Regions from separate parts of the Homo sapiens genome. Here regions 1 and 2 are each linked to region 3. Evidence: promoter capture Hi-C in human tissues and cell types (Jung and others, 2019). All regions are on one chromosome and are shown on one strand. The core of a region is centred on a gene start or on the middle of the fragment in contact, and the rest is flanking DNA. Distances in the headings are between cores, read along the strand shown.

Region 1 (4,391 bases), core at 744-3,243, 880 kb after region 3:
AATAGACCTTGAGGTAAGCTTTACACTTAAATTATAAGGTGAAAGGAAGAAAAGCTGCTGTGAGTTCATTCTCCTCTCTTCCCATACCCTAAATGACTTATCCCATTAAATTGAATTCTGAAAGCTGCAAAACAAGATACCTGGCTATTGTGTGACTCTTGTGTTACTATGTATACCTCTGAGTGTATTTCTCTATCATGGGAGATTGTGTAAGATCTCTATGTTGTAGAGATCTTAAGTCCTTGTTTCCTGCCAAAGCCCCTCTCGGAATCTATCCAGCCAGATGGTTCTCTTGTGTTAGTCCAGTAGGGGGGCTTTAAATAAAGAAATCCAACACGGACACCACTGGAAAGTGTCCCAGGGTTGGAAGATAATGAGGAAGCTGATTTTTCTCATGCAAAGACAAAAGTGACATCTTCTTAAAATTCTTAATTCAATTTGAAGGGAGAAGTAATTACCTCCTCTGGCCATGATGTTGAAATGTCCATAGAGAGGAAAATGGACTTCACCCTCATTAACTCCGTGGATCAGAGCCAAAAGCAGCATTAGCCAAAAAGGCTTCTTCAAGGGCACAGATCCCCTAGATCAAAGCATGTTCTTGAGAGAATAGAGCATGAAGTTTTGTGAGTGACTCCAGTTAGAATCACATGGAGACTTTTCTATTTTTAATGAATCTTTCTTGTATTGTAGTTTATGCAGGTCCACAGTTGGGAACAGGGCAAAGCAGGGATGTGGCATCTGAAATGATTTTTTCTGTCTTCATTGATTCGAGCCTGTGACTGTGGCTGGCAGCTGTTCTACTGGTATTTATCTTGGAGGCTGGTCACACCATCAGGCTCTACAGCACAGAAAAACTTCATTTTTACTCTCTGTCCAGGGCCTTCAGACACTCACTGATACCTCTGTTCATTTGTGGCTGTAGATAATACCTAACCCAATTTCAGCTTACAAAGCCCCATTGAGCAAATGCAAAGTTACAAAGTGCCTCCCTATACAATAGGAAACAGCCCAGCCTGGGAACATTGTCACAAGCATTAATAGGTCACTGTACCTACACATCACTGCATATGCTATTGTGTGCAGTCATTCCAACTCTCCTCTAATTAGAGGGGTGATTCATGTCAGGGGCATAAAGCAAATATTACTTTATTTTTCCAAATTCTAGAAAGCAAGCTTCCATTTTTGATAATAGAAATTTGGGAATGATTGGCAGTCATTTGGCTCACAGGGAAAGCAGGAAAAACAAGAAATCTAAATAAATCTCATATTGATTTTGAAGAAGCTTTCTTGTGACATCTGGTATGCTTTATTTTGTATGTATCAAATCCGAAAATAATAAACAAGTTGATGTAAACAAATGCTTGAAGTAATGCTCAAATGGCAGCTGGATACTTGAAGACGACAGTAGGAAATTTAGCTTTATTAACGGTGCATGCTTGTGCACAGTACAAACTTTATACTTCCTAAATGTTGTCTGAATAAATGATACACAAGCATCAAAATATGTTTGAAAAACATAAAAAATGGTAGAAATATGAGATTATGTCTGAGAAAGCAGCTCAGAGTGGGGTTCTAACCCCAGCTTTCTGATTAGCCCACTCTTGACCTCAGATTGCATCACATAAGCCCTCTGAGCTTCAGTTAAATCCTTTATCAAGCAAGGGACTTAACTCTGTGACCTGGGAGGCTCTGGCTTCCTGTCACTGCCATGAGGCTCTAGTACAGCCAGAGATACAGGGGTCTAAGAACCTGTGTTTAGGATTTTGAGCTGGTTTGATTCAGGTAATCATGTTCTATCTCTGTGTCCTAATCTGTGTTTAAGGTTTTGAATTGGTCTGATTCAGGTAATGGTGTTCTATCTCTGTTTATCAGGATCTTTACCCCTGATAAAAATCCAGAGATCACTTGAATGCAGGTGGTTTTCTCTTCATATTGTTCAATGAAGAAAGCACCAATTAAGGATTCATAATAAACCATTGCCCAGTGAGAAATTGGCCTGGGGTTCCAGGGTGAAGAGGACAGAAGATTTTCATTGGGAGCACCTTAATGAGGACAACAGATCCTGGCTTAATAGAGAACATAAAGTAATAAAGAGAGACAAATCCATCTATCCATTCATTCCACAGCATTGATTGAGTGTCCGCTGTATACAATGGGATAAGGAAAAGATGTCCGTTGGTTCATGCGCAATGATGGTAACAGGTTTTCATTGCTGAACATTACATATTTCCTTTTTAATTTTAATGTTTAATTTTCGTGGGTACATAGTGGGCATATTTATTTATGGGGTACATGAGATTCACTCTAATAAGGTGTAGTGAGTTCCAGGGATTTCAGAGTTGATCAAGGAAAACCATATGGCCACAAGGTGGCAGTAGCGCACAATGAATTTGTTCAGGCTTCGCTTTGACAGATTTGCCAGCAGGGCAAGTCCCTCATGGCACGAGACCATCCAGAGGCCATGGTTCAGGAGCCCTACCTAGAAGATGAAGAGGTCAAGGGAAATTCTAGGGAAGATGGGGCTTATGTTTCCAGGTGATGTTTCTCAGCAGCACAGTGGGAAGTTTGGGTTAGAGAGCTTTGAAGAGCAGAAGATGCTTGGGGTCTTTTACAGCAAAAGAGTTTATTTTATCAATGGCTAGCAGATAGGGGGCACACTTTTGGTAGATATCCAAAGCAGGCAGGCTCTAAGTGGATAAAAGTCTGCTTATTTGGGCTATGATTAGAACAATTAGATGTGTAAAAATTTGAGTTGAGTGCCAGTGGGCTTTTGAGCTAATGGTCCCAGCCTACTGTGAAGAAGTATACAATCCAGAGGCCAAAAATAAAAGGGCCATCTTTAGTTCATTTATGTAACACGTGGTCAACTGATCCTAACCCCATGGGCATCATAGACTAGTGAGTGAGACAGACACACCTACTCATCCATCCATTCACACAACAAGCAATGACTGGGTTCCTCCTTCATCTCTGAATGTCATCACACAGGGCATGGGGGATTCAGAAATAAAGATGGCATCTTGAAGGAACTCATGCTCCATTGAACATGTCCAGATTTTGGTCTGAGTACAGACAGCAAGAGTTAATATAGAAGTGGGGACTCTGAATGATGCAAGTCTCATCAGCAGAGGAGCTGGGGGAGTGGGAAAATATCATGAGCTTTCCTAGAGGGAGTGGCAATCAAGCTGACTTTCGAAGGAGAAGCCAGAGACAGCCCAGCGGATATGCTGGAAAATGTTTTGCGAACTGAGGGGCCAGCATGTAACAAGGCTCCTATGCCTTGGGGACACAAGCTGAGTTTGGTGGAGCTTTGGATTGAAGAACAGAAAGAGCAAGACATTAGGCAGTGCATGCAGGCAGGGGCTAGATAAGGCAGAACCTGTGGGACGCAGTAAGAAGTGGAGCCAGTGAAAGTGTTAAAGCATGGCAGTGTACACAATTCTCCCTGACTGTGGAGGAAAGGAGGGTGGCTGCTAGGACACCAGATGGGAAGGAAGTACTGGCATCCAGGTGCCTGATGCTGAGGGCCAGAGGTAAAGAGGCATGGACAGAAGAGCCAGCCTGGGAGCTGGTGAGGAGGTGGGATTAGAGTCCTGCTAAGGAAGCACAAGTCAAGGGACTTTAGTCCCCAACCATGTGCATCCCTCCTGACCTGGTTATCCAGAACAGCTCTGCACACACTCACCACATGCTGAACTGAGGGGTGATTTGCAATTGCTGGGGTGATATAGGAAGAGCATCCAGGCAGAGGGAAGGGCTTAGGGTGAGGGCCAGCCTGGCTGCTTCAGGACCATGTGGAGGCCAACACAGTGAGGTCACTCTAATAAGAGATGGGGTCTGAGTGTGGGATAATGGAGGGCCAGGCCAAGTGGGGCCTTGTGGGTCACTGTGCAGACTTGGGAGCTTATGAGGGGTTGCACAGAGGGTGGTCTGTTCTCACTTGCTATTTCAGGAGAGCACACTGGCTGAGCAGACTTGGAAGCTTATGAGGGTTTGCACACAGGAGGGCCTGTTCTTACTTGCTATTTCAGGGGAGCACACTGGCTGAGAGGGGGCAAGGGAAAAGGGAGGTAATTTAGGTAATTGCAAGCAAGAAGAGAAGGTATGCTGGACAGGTAGAGGCACTGGAGTGAGAAGTCTCAGTTGCTTGTAATATTGAAGATAAAGGACTGATTATGGGTGGCAAAAAAAAGATGTCAAGGAAGACACCAAAATATTTTTCTTGAGCAGGTAGAAGGATGGAGATGTCACTAACTGACATAGGTCAGACAGCTGGGGGGTGGGTTTAGAAGAGAAGATTTCACATGCCTCTTCCCACACTCTGGGACCCAGCCCCATAGATTTCAGATCCACCTCAGGGTCCTCACATCTGCAATTTGCTGTGACTGAAA
Region 2 (4,384 bases), core at 1,555-4,054, 600 kb after region 3:
AGATGGGGTCATATTGGAGTACGGCGGACCCCTAATCAAATATGACTGGTGACCTTGTCACAAAGAAAATTTGGACACAGGGACAGGCATGTATGCAGGAAGAATGCCAGGTGAAGGCTGGAGTTATGCTGCTGCAAACTAAGGAGTACCTAGAATTGGGAGATAGGCCTGGGACAGACCCTTCCCTGGAAACTTCAGAGGGAACGTGGCCCTGCCTGTGCCTTAATAGCAGACTCCTAAACTCCAGAAGTGTGAGACATACATTTCTGTAGTATTAAGCCACCCAGTTTGTGGTGCTTTTTATGGAAGCCCCAGGAAATGAATACAGCTGGTCTAGTCAATGATCACACGCTTCCTGGCCCATCTGCCTGCTTTCATTTGTGACCAAGAATTCTTTCCAACACACTTCTCTAGGGAACCAATTTGAGCTGACCTGTGAGAGATCAATCTGCCGCAGTCTTTGCATCGGGGAGCTGTATTATATAAGAGCATGGACTTTGGAGTGGAGGAACTTGGATTTGGGCTGTGGTCACTACTTACCATTATCACATGACTTGGAGAAAATAATTGATCATCTCCAAGCCTCAGTTTCCTCTTCTGAAAAATGGGAGTAATAGACCTACCTCATTGGATTGTTGTAAGCATTGAATGGAATGATGCTGAGAAGCACTAGGGCAGAGGGCCTGGTTCAAGTAAAAAGCAGCTGTTATGATTACACTTTAAGCTCCTTGAGATCTGAAGAGTATTACTTTTTTTCTTCACTATTACCCATTGGAATAATTAGGACACCTGTTTGTTCCCTCTCCAGTAAAACTGAGTTGGTTTGGCAGCTGCCATTAATCATCAACTAAGTGGCCTCATTAATCCAAAGTCACAAGGGACCCGGACTCTTTCTCTTTTGTTGCTTGGCCATTCCTGGGATGTTATCCACTTGGTCCCAGGTGGTTCAACACATCCCAGTACAACCAGCAGGAAGGAGATAAGGGGAAACAGAATCGTGCCTTGGAAAAGGCCCATGATTCCATTGGCCTGGGCACAGTAACGTTGCTACATCTTCCTACAAGGGGTGCTGGAAAGTGTGGCCATGATCCTGAGAAGCTGGTGAAAAGTGGGTATTCTATTACTCACTGAAAGAAGAGGAGGATGGGTTTGAGGGCAACTGCTTGTCTCCATCCCAACTATACATCAGCACATAGATGGCAGTCAAACAATATATGGTTAATGCATTATTATATTTGTTACTATTTTGATGATGAATATCTGACATCAAAGAATGTCTCTTGTCTTAAACAACTAGAGAACAATTTTTATTCCATCAATTAAAGATCGTCTAGGACCAGCTGATTATTTTAAAAAAGTTAATCAACTTGCATTATAATTTATTTTACAAATATGAGGAAATTGTTATCCTTGGTTTCTAGATATTTGTGTGATGATTTCTTTTTTTTCCTTTCCTTTTTTTTTTTTTTGAGACGGAGTCTCGCTCTGTCGCCCAGGCTGGAGTGCAGTGGCGTGATCTCGGCTCACTGCAAGCTCTGCCTCCCGGGTTCATGCCATTCTCCTGCCTCAGCCTCCCGAGTAGCTGGGACTAAAGGCACCCGCCACCTCACCCGGCTAATTTTTTGTATTTTTAGTAGAGACGGGGTTTCACTGTGTTAACCAGGATGGTCTCAATCGCCTGACCTAGTGATCCGCCTGGCTTGGCCTCCCAAAGTGCTGGGATTACAGGTGTGAGCCACCACGCCCGGCCCAGAGTAACATTTTTGATAAGCTGCATGGTGCTAAAGGAAAAAGAAAGTTGGAAGTATTTGGGCATTTTTAGCTTTGGGTGAGCTGGTGAATTTAATTTCCCGATTTGTTGCTGAGAAACACAGTTTTTCTGTATGGGTAATTACAAAGTTGTATTGTTAAATTGCATTCAGAGTTGACAATAGTTAAACAACAACAACACTTTAACACAATAGTTAAAGAATAACAACACAAAGAGCCTATAGCAGCAGAGATGGAGAGAGGGGGAAAAATTCTCTGCTGCTCTTGGAGGGTGGATCTAAGTGTTATGAATCTTGGAGACATATTACAACACAGTCAACAGTCAAAATATTGGTATGGGGATATTTTAAAAGATGGCAGTGGGCTGCAGCAAGGAACCCCATACTGAAAGGGGCTGTGCTATTCTGCATGGAACAGAAGCTCAGGGGTCATGAGGACTCAGAAACATCTAGCGGGAAAGATGGGACTCGTCTGTACCAAGGAAATTTTGCTTGGGTAGATTCAGCAGATATAGCAGCTTCTCCAGAGGAGGGTCTTGGGAGGACCCGTGGATGTATATGTATAAGAAAAAGGGTCAAATTTTAACACCTTAGGGCCAGGCATGGTGGTGCACACCTGTAATCCCAGAACTTCGGGAGGCTGAGGCAGGCAGATTGCCTGAGCTCAGGAGTTTGAGACCACCCTGGGCAATACGGTGAAACCCTGTCTCGACTAAAATATAAAAAATTAGCCAGACATGGTGGCAGGCACCTGTAGTTCCAGCTACTCGGGAGGCTGAGGCAGGAGAATCTCTTGAACCTGGGAGGCGGAGGTTGCAGTGAGCTGAGATCGTACCACTGCCCTCCAGCCTGGGTAACAGAAGGAGAACTTGTCTCCAAAAAAAAAAAAAAAAAAAAAAAAAAAAAAAAAAAAAATTAACACCTTCCATGTCTGGGGGATGCAAAGCCACCTTACTTAATACTAATAAAAGAAGAATAGGTTTGCTTGATTTACATGCCACCCTTGGGATCAAAAACCTTAGCTAGTGCTATAGATGGAATGTTGTGTCCCCCTCCCTAATTCATAAGTTGAAATCTTAACACCCAGTGTGATGGTATGAGGAACTGGGGCCTTTGGGAGGTGATTAGATCATGAGGATGGAGCCCACATTAATGGGATTAGTGCCTGATATGGTTTGGCTGTGTCCCCAACCAAATTTTATCTTGAATTGTAATAATCCTCATGTGTCATGGGAGGGGCCCAGTGGGAGGTAATTGAATCATGGGGGCAGGCCTTTCCCATGCTGTTCTCATGATAGTGAATAAGTCTCATGAGATCTGATGGTTTTATATAGGGGAGTTCCCCTGCACATGCTCTCTTGCCTGCCACCATGTAAGATGTGACTTTGCTCCTCCTTCACCTTCCTCCATTATTGTGAGGCCACCCCAGCTATGTGGATCTGTGAACCCATTAAACCTCTTTCCTTTATAGATTACCTAGTCTACGATATGTCTTCATTAGCAGCGTGAAAACAGACTAATACAGTATCCTTAAAAAAGTGATCCCAGAGAGCTCCCTCATCCCTTCTACTGCATGAAGACGAGGAGGCAGCGGGTCCTCACCAGATACTGAATCTTTAGAGCCTTCACTTTGGACTTTTTAGCCTGCAGAACTGTGAGAGATAAACTGTTGTCAATAAGCCACCCAGGCTACTGCACTTTGTTGCAGAAGCCCCAATAGACAAAGGCAGCTAGCAGATATGGGGGCGAAGGAACAATGTTCACTGGGGAGGGAGCCGACTTAAACAGGGAGGACATTTTACTTATAGCAAGTTTATAAAATTTTGATTTATGTAATTAATATAATTTTCAAATAACACATCGAGACTATATGATCTTAAGGATATTATAAGACTGATTATAGGGGAATACGATAGAATAGCAGTAACCAGAATACCAAATAAATCCCCAAATCTCAATGGACAGACACAAGAGAATTATGTCCCCCTTAAATCTGGCTAGTGGAAGTCCTTCTGAAACCAGCCTTAAGAGTCCCATAGAGAGTTGCTTTTGGATAAACATAGAAATGGACCCTTGTGCTGTTAAAGCTTGAAGCGTATATTTGTTTTATCTGAGTTCCTTTCTCAGGAAACGACCTCATGCTTCTCACAAAAAATATCAAAGAAGGGAAACTAGATCACCACACCAGATGCTGGACCCCTCATTCACCATGATGGCTTCCTTGCCCTTCCCAAGTTCCTGTTTTCTTACACATTGTTACATTTCTTGCCTGCTATGTAAAGCCCTGGTTTTAGTCAGTCAGAGATATGGATTTGAGACTGAGCTCCCATCTCCTCAGCTGCAGCAACCAATTAAAGCCTTCTTCCTTGGCAATACTCGGCGTCTCAGTGATTTGCTTTCTGTGCAGTAAGCAGTAGGACTCAGACCAAACCCCTGGTGTTTCAGTAACAACTTCCAGGTGCTGCTGAGAACCCGGCTATTTCCATTTTGCATATTTGTATTTGGATAGGGGAAGAGAAAGTACAAAGCTGACACTCTCTATTCCTACTCACCTTGGCTCAGAAGCAACACATCACCACTGCTCACACCCTATTGGTGACAACTAGCCACACACC
Region 3 (4,241 bases), core at 78-2,577:
GAGAAAACTGAGGCTCAGGGAGGAATAAGGGACTCGCCCCAGCTTGCACAGCTAAGGAGCGGCAGAGCTGGGATTCTCAGCCAAGACTCCATGACTCCAGAGCCTTCCCCAAATCTGTCTTTTCATCACCCCACGCTGCCTTATTGACCATTTTCAAAGAGTTTGACCCACTTTTTCATGGAAAACTGAGATGGCAGAGCAAGTGGCTGGTGTGGTGGGGGCTGGGGCGGAGCCAGGACTCCAAGCCACCCTCCCAGGTGGGCAACCCCCCATATCCCCTGTCCTCCCAGCGTGGTGGGGAAGCTTGAAGGCATCTGAGCGCTGCTGGAGGCTCCCCCACATGCTCCCAGCATGACTCATTCATTCGGCTTAGCCCCCCGTGGCTTTGCCCTGGTTGGGGGTGGGGCGCCCAGGAGGATCAGTGGTTTCTGGGATAATAGGTACTGGGGCTCCGTGTGACCTGTGACCTCCCTCCGCACTCTGGCTGCGTCCCTGCCCCTGGATGGAAGAATTCGACCACCTAGTACCCGGCCCTGCGCAACACCTCCGCTCCGTCACTGCCTGACCCTGCGCTGGGAACTCATTCCCGGGACCGCCAGGGAATCTGCCCTTCCCAGGAGAACTCCTGGCTGCCTCCGCGTGCTCCTAGGGCCTGCGCGAAATGGGAAGGCGCATCCTCTAGCCTGGGTAAATAAGGGACCCTGCCTCACCCGGGTGGCCATCCCCAGGCCGCCTTCGCTGTGTTTCAGGTCACCGCACCCAGCCTGCGCACCCCTAGCCCCCATCCCGGTGCCGTGCAGAGGCTCTGCACACAGCCTCGGCCTCCCGGAGGCCCTCCCCTCTCTCCTCTCCCCTCTCCCACAGGCACTCCCTAGCTGTGCCACATTTAACCCGGGACCTCCTGTCCGCGCTCAGTCTTGCAGTCTCTGGCCCCGGCAGACACCACCTCTCCAGAGGTCGCTGCCCCATCCCGGTGACCCTCCGCTGGCCTCCTCACCCCTCGACCTTGGCAACTCCTACCGCTGCGCCCCAAGACGCCGGATCTAGCTGGGCATCCCCTCTCTGCATTGCGCACCCCTCCCGCAGCCCCTGTACCCGCGAGCGCCCGCGACCCCCGGCGGGCTCCCGGAGCCTCCCGGCCGGGCGCCCTCCCCCGAACCGCCGAGCAGTGGCGCGTCCCGCCGCCTACTGGCCGGGCTGCCGCCTGTGCCCCGGCTCCCGGGCGGCCCCTCCCCCGGCCGCGGCCCCGCCCTCCGCTCCTCTCCTCCTCCTCCTCCTCCTACTCCTCCTCCTCCTCCTCCTCCCCCCGGCGCTCGCTCGCTCGCTCACTCTCTCGCTGGCTCGAGGGGCGGCCGGCAGATGGCGATGGCAGAGGCGGCGGCGGCGGCGGCGGCGCGACCGGGATGGGACGGGCGCTGGGGCGCAGGAGCCGCGGCGGCGGCGGCGGCGGGGGCCGCGCAACTCGGGCCAACTGCGGGGCAGCCGGCCAGGGCGCGGGGCGCTGAGCCTCGGCCGCCCCAGCTCCCCAGCCACGCACGGCCGAGCCCAGGAGAGCGCGCAGAGGCGCAGCCGAGGAAGCGCCGCCAGCGCCGGCGCATGCGTCTGGGGAGGAGCGGCGCGCTGGGAGCGAGCCATGCCCGGCGCCCGGGCGTAGCCGCCGGGGGCTGCTCCGGGAGCCGCGGGCCGGGCCGGGCGCGCGAGAGGAGCAGCCCCGCGCCGCACCCACCGCGCGCCGAGGACCATGCCGCCCCCGGGCCGGGCGCCGCCGCTCGGGCTCCTGCTGGCGCTGACTGCGCTCCAGTGCCCAGGTAACGCGTCCCCGGACCCCATCCCCGACCCCGGCCGAGGCGCACAAAGTTGGGTGAACGGGCGGCTACCTCCTTCTCAAGTCCCTGGCAGCGCGCATCTCCCGGACTTGGACAGACCTGGGGAGACCCTGGGAACCCAGGAGCCCCCGGCGCGTTCCCCTTTGCCTAGCGCCTGGGGAGAGCCCGCCTGCCTTCTCCCCCAAACCCTTAGCTTCCTTGCGGATCCTTTCGGGACGCACGGGGGCCACAGACCGGGGCACTCAGCCTCTCGAGGCGGGTGGGGACGCGACTGCAGGAATCGAGCCCCCTCCCCGCCCTGCCTTGGGCCAAATCCCCCCCAGGTCCCAGTTCCTCCAGGGGTTTTGCTGGGCGGGGGCGTCGACGCAGCCCTTCTCCAGTGTCTTGCTGCCCGCGGTCGCACAGTGGTGCGTTCCCGGGACACCTGCGGGCCCCGGAGATGTCTCGGCCGGCGCTGTCTGGCTTGTCCGCAGCCCCTCCCCACGCCCCGCGGCCCTCCCCTGCTTTCACACTGCCCTCCCCAAGCTACCCACCCTCGCCAAATGGCCTCCTCTTGGCCAAAGAGCAGCCCGCTGCGCGCCTCCTGCAAACGCGGTCTACTCCAGCGCCCTGACCCCAAGGCGGGCGGGAGAGGGTAGCCGCGGCCAAGCAGTCCAGGACGCGCCGGGGAGCCTGGAACGCGGTGCTGTCCAGAGCCATTGCCTGGGCACCGGGGAGCTGGACTCCCTGCTGAACCAGCTCAGCTGTCGCCCAATCCTAGTGAGTGGGAAAAGCAAAATAGTCAGGTATTGTCTGTCTTCGCTGGAGTTTGGAAAGCTTTCTACCCACCTTGGTGTGGCTACATGTTGGTTCTATAGAAAGCGTATCCTAAAATGACAATTCCTCCCCTCCCCCCACCCCATGCAAGCAGTGGAGAAAATCCTAAAGGCTCAGATGAACCCCGGGAACAGTCACGAGCAGCCTTCATGTGCTTTTGAAATCTCAGTTCTCCAAACCTTTTAAAATCAAGACCCATGATTTGGGAACAGGTAGCTTTTGCTTTAGAAAATCTCTCCCCATTTCCTTAACAAACAAATCGCACAGACAGGCAGAATGCAGTAGAAAAATACAACTATAACTTTTCGGCTTTCACTGTCTTGGTAAGGTTGCAGTTAGGAGCAAACCTGGCATGTCAACTTGATGTTCGATGTATTTTATTTGCATGGAAAAAGTCAGTGTCGGCTTCCTTTGAGATGCCCTTAAGTGACCCAAAATATTTACCAACACCTTCGACTTGAAGAAAACCTTCTATTGGAGATCTCCGTCAGCGTTCGGCTTTGGTTCAGCCTAGAGAATGGCATTGGGCTTAACGTGGATGAATCTTGCCTGCTTGGCTAAGGAGCAGCTATGATAGCTGTTTTGCTTTCGGCATTCCTCTGCGGTCCACGAGAGGGGCTGCTGCTGGGGCCGAGGCTGTTTTCTCTTAGCTGAAGCCCTGGGACCTGTTTGCAAAAGTGCAGTCCCTCGGACTTGAAAATTGCAGTTTTGTCTCTATTTTGTTTCTCCACGGGGGTCAGCATTTGCCTGGATGTGCTTATAAGTGAATATCGGAAGTCTCTCAGAGAAGCTGCCTGCATAATGCTTTGTAAGAGAATAGGATGGTCCCCCTACCACCCCCCCACCCCCGTCCCCCGCCCTCTCCCCCAGCAACAGAAGAGCCTGTGCCTGGCTCTGGAAGGCCCCATGTTGGGAGGGAAGGTGAGCTCCCACTGAAACCTGCTGCTGGCCGGCTCTTTGCCTGCTCCCCTGCTGTTCTTTGGGAGAGTCTCAGCAGGGCAGCTCGTTCCGACAAATGCCGTCCGGGCAGAGCCCCCAGTGCCATCGCCCCGTCCCTGGAAGCACATGCAAGTCTTTAACTGGTCCCTACCAGGGACATAAAGAGACGACAGTTTGATAACTCTATATTTAGCACTAGTTAGGAGGGATGGCAAAAAAAAAAAAAAAAAAAAAGAAAAAAAGAAATTCCTGAAAGATACTTAGCTGCCTACACTTGGTTTTGAGAGGTTCAGAGGAATTAACCAGAGCTTCCTTCAGGGCTGGTTGGATTTTCTGGGTGATTTCTGCCATGGTTTACCGACCCCCTTTGGCTGAGGCTCTGGAAGAGGGGCTGGAAGAGTTCAGAGGCAAAGATGCGCACACTGTCTCCCATCACACACACGCAGGGACTGGCTTCTTTGTCCCCCACCCCCCTTCCTGCGTGGGTAGCTGCCATGGTAAAGAGTAGGGTGGGTGTACTTCTTTCAGCCTTGCAAGTGCTTAAACATATGGAACTGTACTTGGTAAGAGTCAGCACAAATCCCCCAGCTTAGCGACTAGGGGGCCCCTATTATTCGAGCCACTTTTGTACATGCTGTGGCTTTGCAAATTAGCGGTGCA

What was found. The method cuts DNA at HindIII sites, captures the fragments that hold promoters and counts their contacts. A contact is called where the count stands out against the background at its distance.
Region 1: a contact is called between a fragment that was not itself captured here and the fragment with the promoter of TMEM132B in region 3, in 1 of the 25 tissues and cell types used here (mesendoderm cells).
Region 2: a fragment that was not itself captured here is called in contact with the fragment with the promoter of TMEM132B in region 3 in 1 of the 25 tissues and cell types used here (mesendoderm cells).

Annotation. Positions count from the first base shown.
Region 1 is chr12:126,067,355-126,071,745 of GRCh38, forward strand. No RefSeq gene overlaps it. Among named protein-coding and RNA genes, the nearest start is that of LINC02359, 26 kb to the right of the region's middle. The HindIII fragment of the contact is 4,397 bases long and covers 1-4,192 here.
Region 2 is chr12:125,786,701-125,791,084 of GRCh38, forward strand. No RefSeq gene overlaps it. Among named protein-coding and RNA genes, the nearest start is that of LINC00939, 190 kb to the right of the region's middle. The HindIII fragment of the contact is 4,604 bases long and covers 503-4,384 here.
Region 3 is chr12:125,185,059-125,189,299 of GRCh38, forward strand. TMEM132B (transmembrane protein 132B) reads left to right here and starts at 1,328. Exons shown (of 9, transcript NM_001366854.1): 1 at 1,328-1,808. The coding sequence starts at 1,742. RefSeq lists an enhancer at 529-1,062 and a silencer at 1,111-1,320. The HindIII fragment of the contact is 11,061 bases long and covers 1-4,241 here.